Linked DNA regions of Homo sapiens: region 1 is linked to region 2. The links are contacts of gene promoters, found by promoter capture Hi-C in blood cells and fetal thymus (Javierre and others, 2016). All regions are on one chromosome and are shown on one strand. Each heading gives the region's core, a stretch centred on a gene start or on the middle of the fragment in contact. The rest is flanking DNA. Distances are from core to core; before and after follow the strand shown.

Region 1 (4,341 bases), core at 569-3,068, 990 kb before region 2:
AAAAAAAAAGACATACCTTGTAGTGACAGTGACAGTCATTTATCGCCCCATTTCTCAGTTACTCTATCCTCTACCCCATCCCAGGGAAGAAAAGAGTTACCACGAATGACTTAATTTAAATGCTCTCTGGCTAAACAGAAATTCCAAATATCTTTTGATACAAATAAATACAAAATGCACAAGCCTTACAGAAAAGAGTGGTAATTTTCATCCTCACGAGTACAATTTAAAGAAATGAATTTTAAATTAGAGTATAAAGTCACAAATTAGAATATTACAACCACCATCCATATCCAATCAACTCATCGCTCATCTGGATGGGGTCCTCTCCCACTTTCTTCACTATTGTGTGTGTCCCTCTCTCATTCTGCACCTTTCCTCCCCTTTTCTGTTTTTCTCCTCTTTATGTCTGTTCTGCCCGATGCTCTGCAACTTACTTCACCTCTCGTAGCTCTTTCTCCCCAATCTTTCTGATTGTCCCCAATCTCCACGTATTTCCGCCTCTTTTTCCCCATCTGAGCTCCCTCTCTGCTCTCCTTGTTAAAATTCCCTCTTACCTGTTACACCTCCTTTGTTCCCACTCTCTAGCACCCCCAACTCCCTAGGCTTCCTCCCTGCTGTGGTTCTCCCTCTACTCTGCTTGTCACCCACTGCCCTCTCTCCCTCTCTTTCAGTCCCAGCACCACGTAGCTCTGTCGGCTGCGGCTCCAACTCTTTCACCTTCTCCCCACTGTCTGTCTGCAGTGCCTCCTCCTTTGCCGCCCCACTCTATTTTGCTGCCTTTCATCTCTCTGAAGGTCCCCCTTTTTTTCTAAATTTCTCTGTGTGCTTTCCTCCCCCTGCTTCTTTCTCCATTCGTTCTCTTTCACTCTTGCTGTCTCTTTGCAAATCCCTAAATTATCATCCATTTTGCCGTGTATTTATGGGTCTCCCTCATTCTCTTCTATTCGGTCTTTCCTTTTGCTCCGTCGCTCCCCTTCTTTTCCTCTCCTGATCCCTCTCACCCACACATTCAGTAAGAAAGGGGAGGAATAGGATGCCCACCTCCCGGAAAAGCATATTTTCCAGTGGAGTAAAATTTGGGAAGGAAGAACACTGGGTGTCACAAGACTCAGGTGACCTCCCCCAAGGGGGGGATCGAGAAAAGCAGTGGCTGTGAAGGGGAAGCCTGGGGAGCGAAAGGACCCGGCGTGAGGAGGACACAAGGTGGCAGGGGGTACGGTGTCTCAGGACAGGGAGGGTCTGCAGAATCCCAGGACCTGGGAGGAGAAGCGACTCCTTCAGGAGCCGGACGGCGGGCGCTCCCCTCCAGGGGCTGACGACGGAGAAGCTCCGGGGTCGCAACGGGCGGGAATCCACCTCCCGAGTGAGGACTCGACTTGGCGCAGGGCCGAAGCAGAGGTCAGTAAGGGTTTTAAGCAGGAACACGACCTGAGTGGGGTTGTCTACATGGTCCTAAGGCAGAAAGGCAGGGAGCAAGGAACAGCCTCAGAGAGATTTTTAAACCGAAAGGGAAGCAATTATCAGACTTACTTGGGGCGAAGGGGCTGTTGCTGGTATTTTAAGGTCCGTAGCGATCCCCAGGAAACGGGTATGGACAAGGGAAGACTGCCAAGTGCACGTTCGATTCAGGCAGACGGGGCGAAGCAAATGTTTAGTCCAGGTAGACGGAAACTGACGCGCAGCGCTGTGATCTTTTCCCCGCGCGATCTGCTTCCGGGTGTGCAGGAAGCTACACGCCCTGAGAAAAAAGACTGAGAGACCTGGGGCGGGAGAGGGGCCTGGGCGGGGTGCGACCCGCAAGGGAAAGGGCAGAAAGACTGGCCAGATTTGGGAACCCTGAAAGGGTGGGGCAAGGCTGATGCGGTAGTGGGCGGGGCCAGGTGGGCTAAGCGGGACGGGCGGTGTGGGCGGGACCTGTTTGGTGGGCGGGGCCTGTTATTCGCTCTGCCTTCCACCCAGCAAGTCTTTGTTCTCCCGATTTAGGAGTATTTGTGACTATTTCTTGTCCTGTGAAGCAGCGTTGCTTCCTGCCTATTTTAAGTTAATGTTTTAGACTTTAAGGTCAAAGCTTAAAGTTGTGGTCCACTTCTGTTGGAAACTAAGATGTTTTCTTCTTGTCAAGTTGAACTGATTTAAGTCAAAATCGATTTTTGCGAGCCTGGTGGACTCCATCGGGTCTTGCCAGTGAGGCTGAAGCCAGTTAAGGCTGAAGTTACTCAGTAGTCAGGGAACTAGGATCTCCGTGAAGATCTGATGTGCAGCCGTGGCTGGATCCAGGAACCCTGAAGACATTATGCTAAGCGAAATGTGCTAGACACAGAAAGACAAATCCTGCATGTGCTTACTTACATGTGCAATCTACAAACATCAAAATTACAGTAACAGAGTAGAAGGGTGGTTTCCAGGGCTGACGGTCTATCCTGTGCCTGTCCCACCATTGTATTTTGGAAGCAAATAGCTTCTTTGGCTTCACAGTTTCACAGCTGGACAGAAATTTTGCCTCAGGATGAACCACACTTTGAGTCTCACCCATATGTGATTCAGATAATATTTGGGTAATATTTGGGCCTTAGAGTTTGATACTGAAATGGATTAAGACTTTTGAAATGGGCCAGGAGCAGTGGCTCTGGCCTGTAATCCCAGCTCTTTGGGAGGCCAAGGTGGAAGGATTGCTTGAGCTCAAGAATTCAAGACCAACCTGGGGCAACATAGTAAGACCCTTGTCTCTACAAAAAATACAAAAATTAGCCAGGCATGGTGGCTCACGCCTATAGTCACAGCTATTTGGGAGGCTGAGGTGGGAGGATCTCTTGAGCCCAGGGGATCAAGGCTGCAATGAGTTGTCTTTGCACCACTGAACTGCTGCCAGGGCAACAGAGTGAGACTCTGTCTCAAAAAATAATAATAATAAGACTTTTGAGATGTTAGGATGGGGGTGAAGGGATCTTGCATGTGAGAAGGACATGAATTTTGGGAGTCCAGAGTACAGAATGTTATGAGCTGAATCACGTCCCTAAAAAATCATTGTTGGCCAAGCGCGGTGGCTCATGCCTATAATCCCAGCACTTTGGGAGGCCGCGGCGGGCGGATCACAAGGTCATGAGATCGAGACCATCCTGGTTAACACGGTGAAACCCTGTCTCTACTAAAAATGCAAAAAATTAGCCGGGCGTGGTGGCGGGTGCGTGTGGTCCCAGCTGCTCCGGAGGCAGAGGCAGGAGAATGGCGTGAACCCAGGAGGCGGAGCTTGCAGTGAGCCGAGATCCAGCCACTGCACTCCAGCCTGGGCGGCAAAGCGAGACTCTGTCTCAAAAAATAAATAAATAAATAAAATAAAATAAATCATTGTCTTTAAGTTCTAACACCCAGTACCTCAGAATATGACTGTATTTTGAAATAGGGCATTTAGAGGCTATTAAGTTAAACTAAGCTTGTTAGAATGGGCTCTGATGCAATCTGACTGATGTTTTGATAAGAGGAAATTTGGCTGGAAGCAGTGCTTCATGCCTGTAATCCCAGCACTTTGGGAGGTCAAGGTGGATGGATCACTTGAGCTCAGAAGTTTGAGACCAGCCTGGCCAACATGGTGAAACCCCATCTCTACTGAAAATACAAAAATTAGCCAGGTGTGGTGGCGCATGCCTTTAGTGCCAGCTACTCGGGAGGCTGAGGCAGGAGAATTGCTTGAATCTGGGAGGCAGAGCTTGCAGTGAGCCGAGATCGCGCCACTGCACTCCAGCCTGGGTGACAGGGTGAGACTCTGTCTCTTAAAAAAAAAAAAAGAAAAATTAGCCGGGTGTGGTGTCACGCACCTGTAATCTCAGCTACTTGGGAGGCTGAGGCAGGAGAATCGCTTGAACCCGGGAGGCGGAGGTTGCAGTGAGCCAAGATCGTGCCACTGCCCTCCAACCTAGGCTCAAAAAAAACAGTGTGTGGCACCTCCCCATTCTCTGTCTTCCTCCTGTCTGGGCATGTGAAGTACTTGCCTCCCCTTCACCTTCTGCCATAATTGTAAGTTTTCTGAGGCCTCTCCAGAAGCCAAGCAGATGCCAGCATCATGCTTCCTGTACAGCCTGCAGAGCCATGAGCCAATTAAACCTCTTTTCTTTATAAATTACCCAATCTCAGGTATTTCTTTATAGCAATGTGAGAACAAACTAATACACTGGCACTACAGGCATGTGCCACCACACCTGACTAATTTTCAAATTTTTTGTAGAGATAGGGTTTCACGTTGTTGTCCATGCTGGTCTTGAACTCCTGGGCTCAAGTGAGCCTCCTGCCTTGGCCGCCCAAACTGTAAAGTAGATAAAATTTAAAAAATGTATATTTTTCCAA
Region 2 (4,109 bases), core at 1,540-4,039:
TGGTGCACACCTGTAATCCCAGCTACTTGGGAGGCTGAGGCAGGCAGGAGAATCGCTTGAACTCGGGAGGCAGAGGCTGCCTTGAGCCAAGATTGCGCCACTGCACTCCAGCCTGGACAACAGAGCGAGACTGTTTCAAAAAGAAAAAAAAAAAAAGACTGCATGACGAGGTGCTACAGGTTCAGAGCTCAGTCTAAAACTGCCCCTCACTTCAGACACAGTATGCCAGTGGTAACTGTCACTTATACTTTTGAGTGACCTGATAAATACTGTGGTTCTCTTAACCCCTCCTCGGCTTTGATTAACTTTCTAGGACAGCTCTTCCTTCTGACTGTTCATCTGTATCTTCTGTAATATCCTTCATAACAAATGTGTAAACTAAGTGAAGTGTTTTCCCTGAGTTCTTTGAGCCGCCCTCACAAATTAATAGAACCTGAGGTGGTGGGGAGGGGGATGTCAAGGGAATCCCCAGTGTATAGCTGGTCGCTCAGAAGTTCAGGTACCAACGGGAGACTTACAACTGGCACCTGATGCGGGGGCAATTTCGTGGAACTGAGCCTCAATCAGTGGGATCTGATGCTAACTCCAGGTAGAGAGTTTCAGAATTGAGTTAAACTATACGACACTCAGTTAGTGTCTGATAGAGAACGGGTTGTTGGTGGGAGAAATCCGCACACATTTTCGTGAGTGGAGGCGAGACACTGTGTAGAATGTGCCCTGTTGTATTGAGTGTGACAGGAAAGAAAATCAAAGGAAAAATATTTTTTCCTCTTAGTTCATACACTCGCCCACACCCTACCCTATTCCAGGAAAAGGGAAGTGGGTGGACTCAAAACTAAATGAGCGAAGTCACTGCCCTCTGGTTTGAATAGTGATTGCAAATGAAGCTATACCCTAATACTAATAATTGTCAAATGCACGTGTTACGCATTTTACATAAAGGAGTTTCTTCCATTCTCATTTGCAACTGCATAATTTAAGTAAACGTATTTTAAATGTGTTGCATTATTTTAAACCCAGAAACCAATGTCACAATGTCATCATCACATCTAATCAACGCACCACTCACCTGGACTCAGGGTCCCTCTCTTGCTTCCATACTGTGTGTTTCCCTCCCTCATCCTCTACATAGCTCTCATTCTCACATTAGCTTATTTTTTATTTTCTGTGTTTTTCCCCTGGTTCTTTGCGCGTCGTTCTGAGCCCCTCTCATCTCCTGCTATTTCTCCCCTTCTTCCTCCGCTTGCACCTGTTCTGTCCCATTCTGGGGCCTTGTTTCAACTCTGATTCCTCTTTCTCCCCAGTCTTTTCATTGTCCCCAGTCTCCATATATTTCTGCCTCTTTCTTCTCCCATCTCTGCTCCCTCTGTTGAATCTCCTCTTCCCTTCTACACCTCTTGCCCCACTCTCTGGCACCCCCAGATCCCAGGCCTCCCCCTGCTGTGGTTCTCCTTCTGCTCTCCTCGTCACCGGCTGTCCCCTCTTGCTGTCCCAGCACCACGCTGCTTGTCTGCCCTGGCTCCAAATCCCTCCTCCTCTCCCGGACTCTGTCTGAGGAGCCTCCCACTTTCTGGCCCTCTCCCTACCTTGCTGTCCTTCATGTCTCTGGACATCGAGCTTTTCTCTACATTTCCCCAGTTGCTTTTCTCCTTCTGCCTTCTCAGCTCCTTCTCTTACCATCTGCAAATCCCTCGCCCATCCTCTACTTTGCCATCTGGTTACGGGTTTCCCTCACTCTTTCCTCTCAGTTTTTCTACTTCTCTCTCTGTCTCTGCCCCTTTCTCTACCTGCTAATCCCCTTGGTCCACACATTCACAGGAAGGTTTGGACTAAGACGCCTGCATCTTGGAGGAGCGCATTTTCCAGGGGCTGGAGCTGGGCAGGCAAGAACACCGGGTGTCACAGGACAGGCCCCGGGCACCTCCCCAGCGCGGGCTCAGGAGAAGCGGGGACTGCGAAGGGGAGGCCTGGGGAGCAGCAGGGCCCGGCACGAGGAGGAGGGAGGTGGCGGGGCGACGGCGCCTTAGAAGAGGGGTGGGGTCTGCAGGATGCCAGGACCAGGCAGAGGACGCGGCCTCGCCGGTACCGGGGCTGAGGAGCTGCGCTCCAGGGGCCGACGAGGGCGAGGCTGGGAGGCACCCAGGGCGGGAATCCACCTCGCGGGCGAGGACTTTAAAAAGCCCGGGGCGGGAGGAGGGGTCAGGAAAGGGTTTTAAGCGGGAGGAAGACGCGAAAGGCCGGGGACAGGGAGAAGCCTCAGAGCTACTTCAACCCAAAGAGAAGCGACTCCGAACCCACACCGCGAGTCAGCTGGGGTGGAGGGCGCGGTGCGGGGATCTTAAGGTCTGTAGCTGCCGGGCGCAGTGGCTCACGCTTGTAACCCCAGCACTTTGGGAGGCCGAGGCGGGCGGATTACCTGAGGTCAGGAGTTCGAGATCAGCCTGGGCAACACGGTGAAACCCCGTCTCTACTAAAAATACAAAATTAGCCGGGCGTGGTGGCACATGCCTGTAATCCCAGCTACTCGGGAGGCTGAGGCAGGAGAATCGCTTGAACCTGGGAGGCGGAGGATGCGGTGAGCCGAAATCGCGCCATTGCACTCCAGCCTGGACAACAAGAGTAAATCTCCGTCTCACCAAAAAAAAAAAAAAAGAAAAAAAAAAAGGTCTGTAGCGAGCCCGGGAACTGGCTGCGGAAACGGGGCACGGCGGTTCGCAAGTTTAATCCATACTGAGGGACACTCACGCTCGGCGGCGTCACCCGCACCCAACACGATCCGCTTCCGGAACTGCAGAAAACTGCGCGTGCGCGGAAAAGAGCCCGGGCACTCTGGGGGCGGGGCCTGGGGAGAGGCGGGGTCTGCGGACGAAACGCTGGGGCGGAGCTGGGGCGGGGTCTGCGCTTCCCTCAGCCTGCCTAGCCCGCAGTCTCATTTTTCCCGGTTTAGAAACGCTGGAGTGTTCACTATGTCCCCGGGAGCACCGTTCCAATTTGAAGCAGTTTTAAGGTGAAAGAATAGACTTACGTGGACCACTTATGATAGAAACCAAAATGATTTCCTCTTACCAAGTTGAAAACGGTTTATGTTAAAATTGTTTGCCGGCGGGTTGGACCCAGTCCTGCTAGGGAGTCTGCTGCAGCTCAGGAACGGGGATCTGGGAATCGGGGATCTCGGTCTGGGAACTGGGATCTTAGTGGAGGATCCACGAGGCACGGCGATTGGATCCAGCAATTCCTGCAATTAAAATGTATTTAATTTAACTAAAATGTCTGGAAATTATCTCTGAGGATGATTCAAAGTAGAATGGGAAATGCAGCATCCTACCTGGACGGATATGCAATTTAATGCAGTAGCCCAACAGAACCTCCTTTACATTTCAAATCCCCATTCTCCCCAGTGGAAGAGTCAAGCCTGTGCTCAATTCATGGGAAGGTTAAGGCCGATAAGTTAGATCACCAAGGGCTGCTTTATTGTTCTTTAAAACATATATTTTTGTAAAGATGGGAGTCTCGGCCCAGGCTGGTCTCCAACTCTTGACCTCAAGCAATCCTCCTGCCTGGGCCTCCAAAATTGCTGGGATTACAGGAGTGAACTACTGTGCCCAGTCAACTACTGATTTAAACCATGTGAATTTTTAAAAAATAGAGATAAACTGCATTATTTTTGCTTATATTCGTTATTCCGTTCCACACTTGAAATGACTTAACCACAAACAACTTTGACATAATCTTTCTTTGCATCAAAATATGCTTAAATCAATAATTTCTAAATATCATGTAATTTCAAATTCACTTTATGGGCATTCTGAAGGGAACTTGACACAGTACTTTTTATTTTAAAATTGTAATCTATATTGGGTCTATTTTTTTGTTTTCTGTTTCTTAATGTTCTATCAGATGTGGATAACAGAGTGTGGAAAATAGTCACCACATGACAATTGGATTTATTTTCGCCTAAAGAATAGTTTTCCAGTATTTCTAACGTACCATCCCAGTACATTGACTGAACTAAAGACTCACAGGGATACCCTTTTTTCATGTTTATAGAGAACCTAGTTTATACCTGCTATTGTCTTATGTACATTTTCATGTCACACAATTTTATCTCC

What was found. The method cuts DNA at HindIII sites, captures the fragments that hold promoters and counts their contacts. A CHiCAGO score of 5 or more calls a contact.
Region 1: the fragment with the promoter of ZNF836 here is called in contact with the fragment with the promoter of ZNF347 in region 2 in 5 of 17 cell types (non-activated CD4 T cells, fetal thymus, M1 macrophages and 2 more); the score reaches 8.9 in non-activated CD4 T cells.

The regions. Positions count from the first base shown.
Region 1 is chr19:52,169,803-52,174,143 of GRCh38, forward strand. ZNF836 (zinc finger protein 836) reads right to left here and starts at 1,819. Exons shown (of 5, transcript NM_001102657.3): 1 at 1,534-1,819. RefSeq lists an enhancer at 1,218-1,357 and a silencer at 1,938-1,987. The HindIII fragment of the contact is 2,622 bases long and covers 1-2,069 here.
Region 2 is chr19:53,156,264-53,160,372 of GRCh38, forward strand. ZNF347 (zinc finger protein 347) reads right to left here and starts at 2,790. Exons shown (of 5, transcript NM_032584.3): 1 at 2,746-2,790. RefSeq lists an enhancer at 2,693-2,987 and a silencer at 2,723-2,972. The HindIII fragment of the contact is 5,586 bases long and covers 1-4,109 here.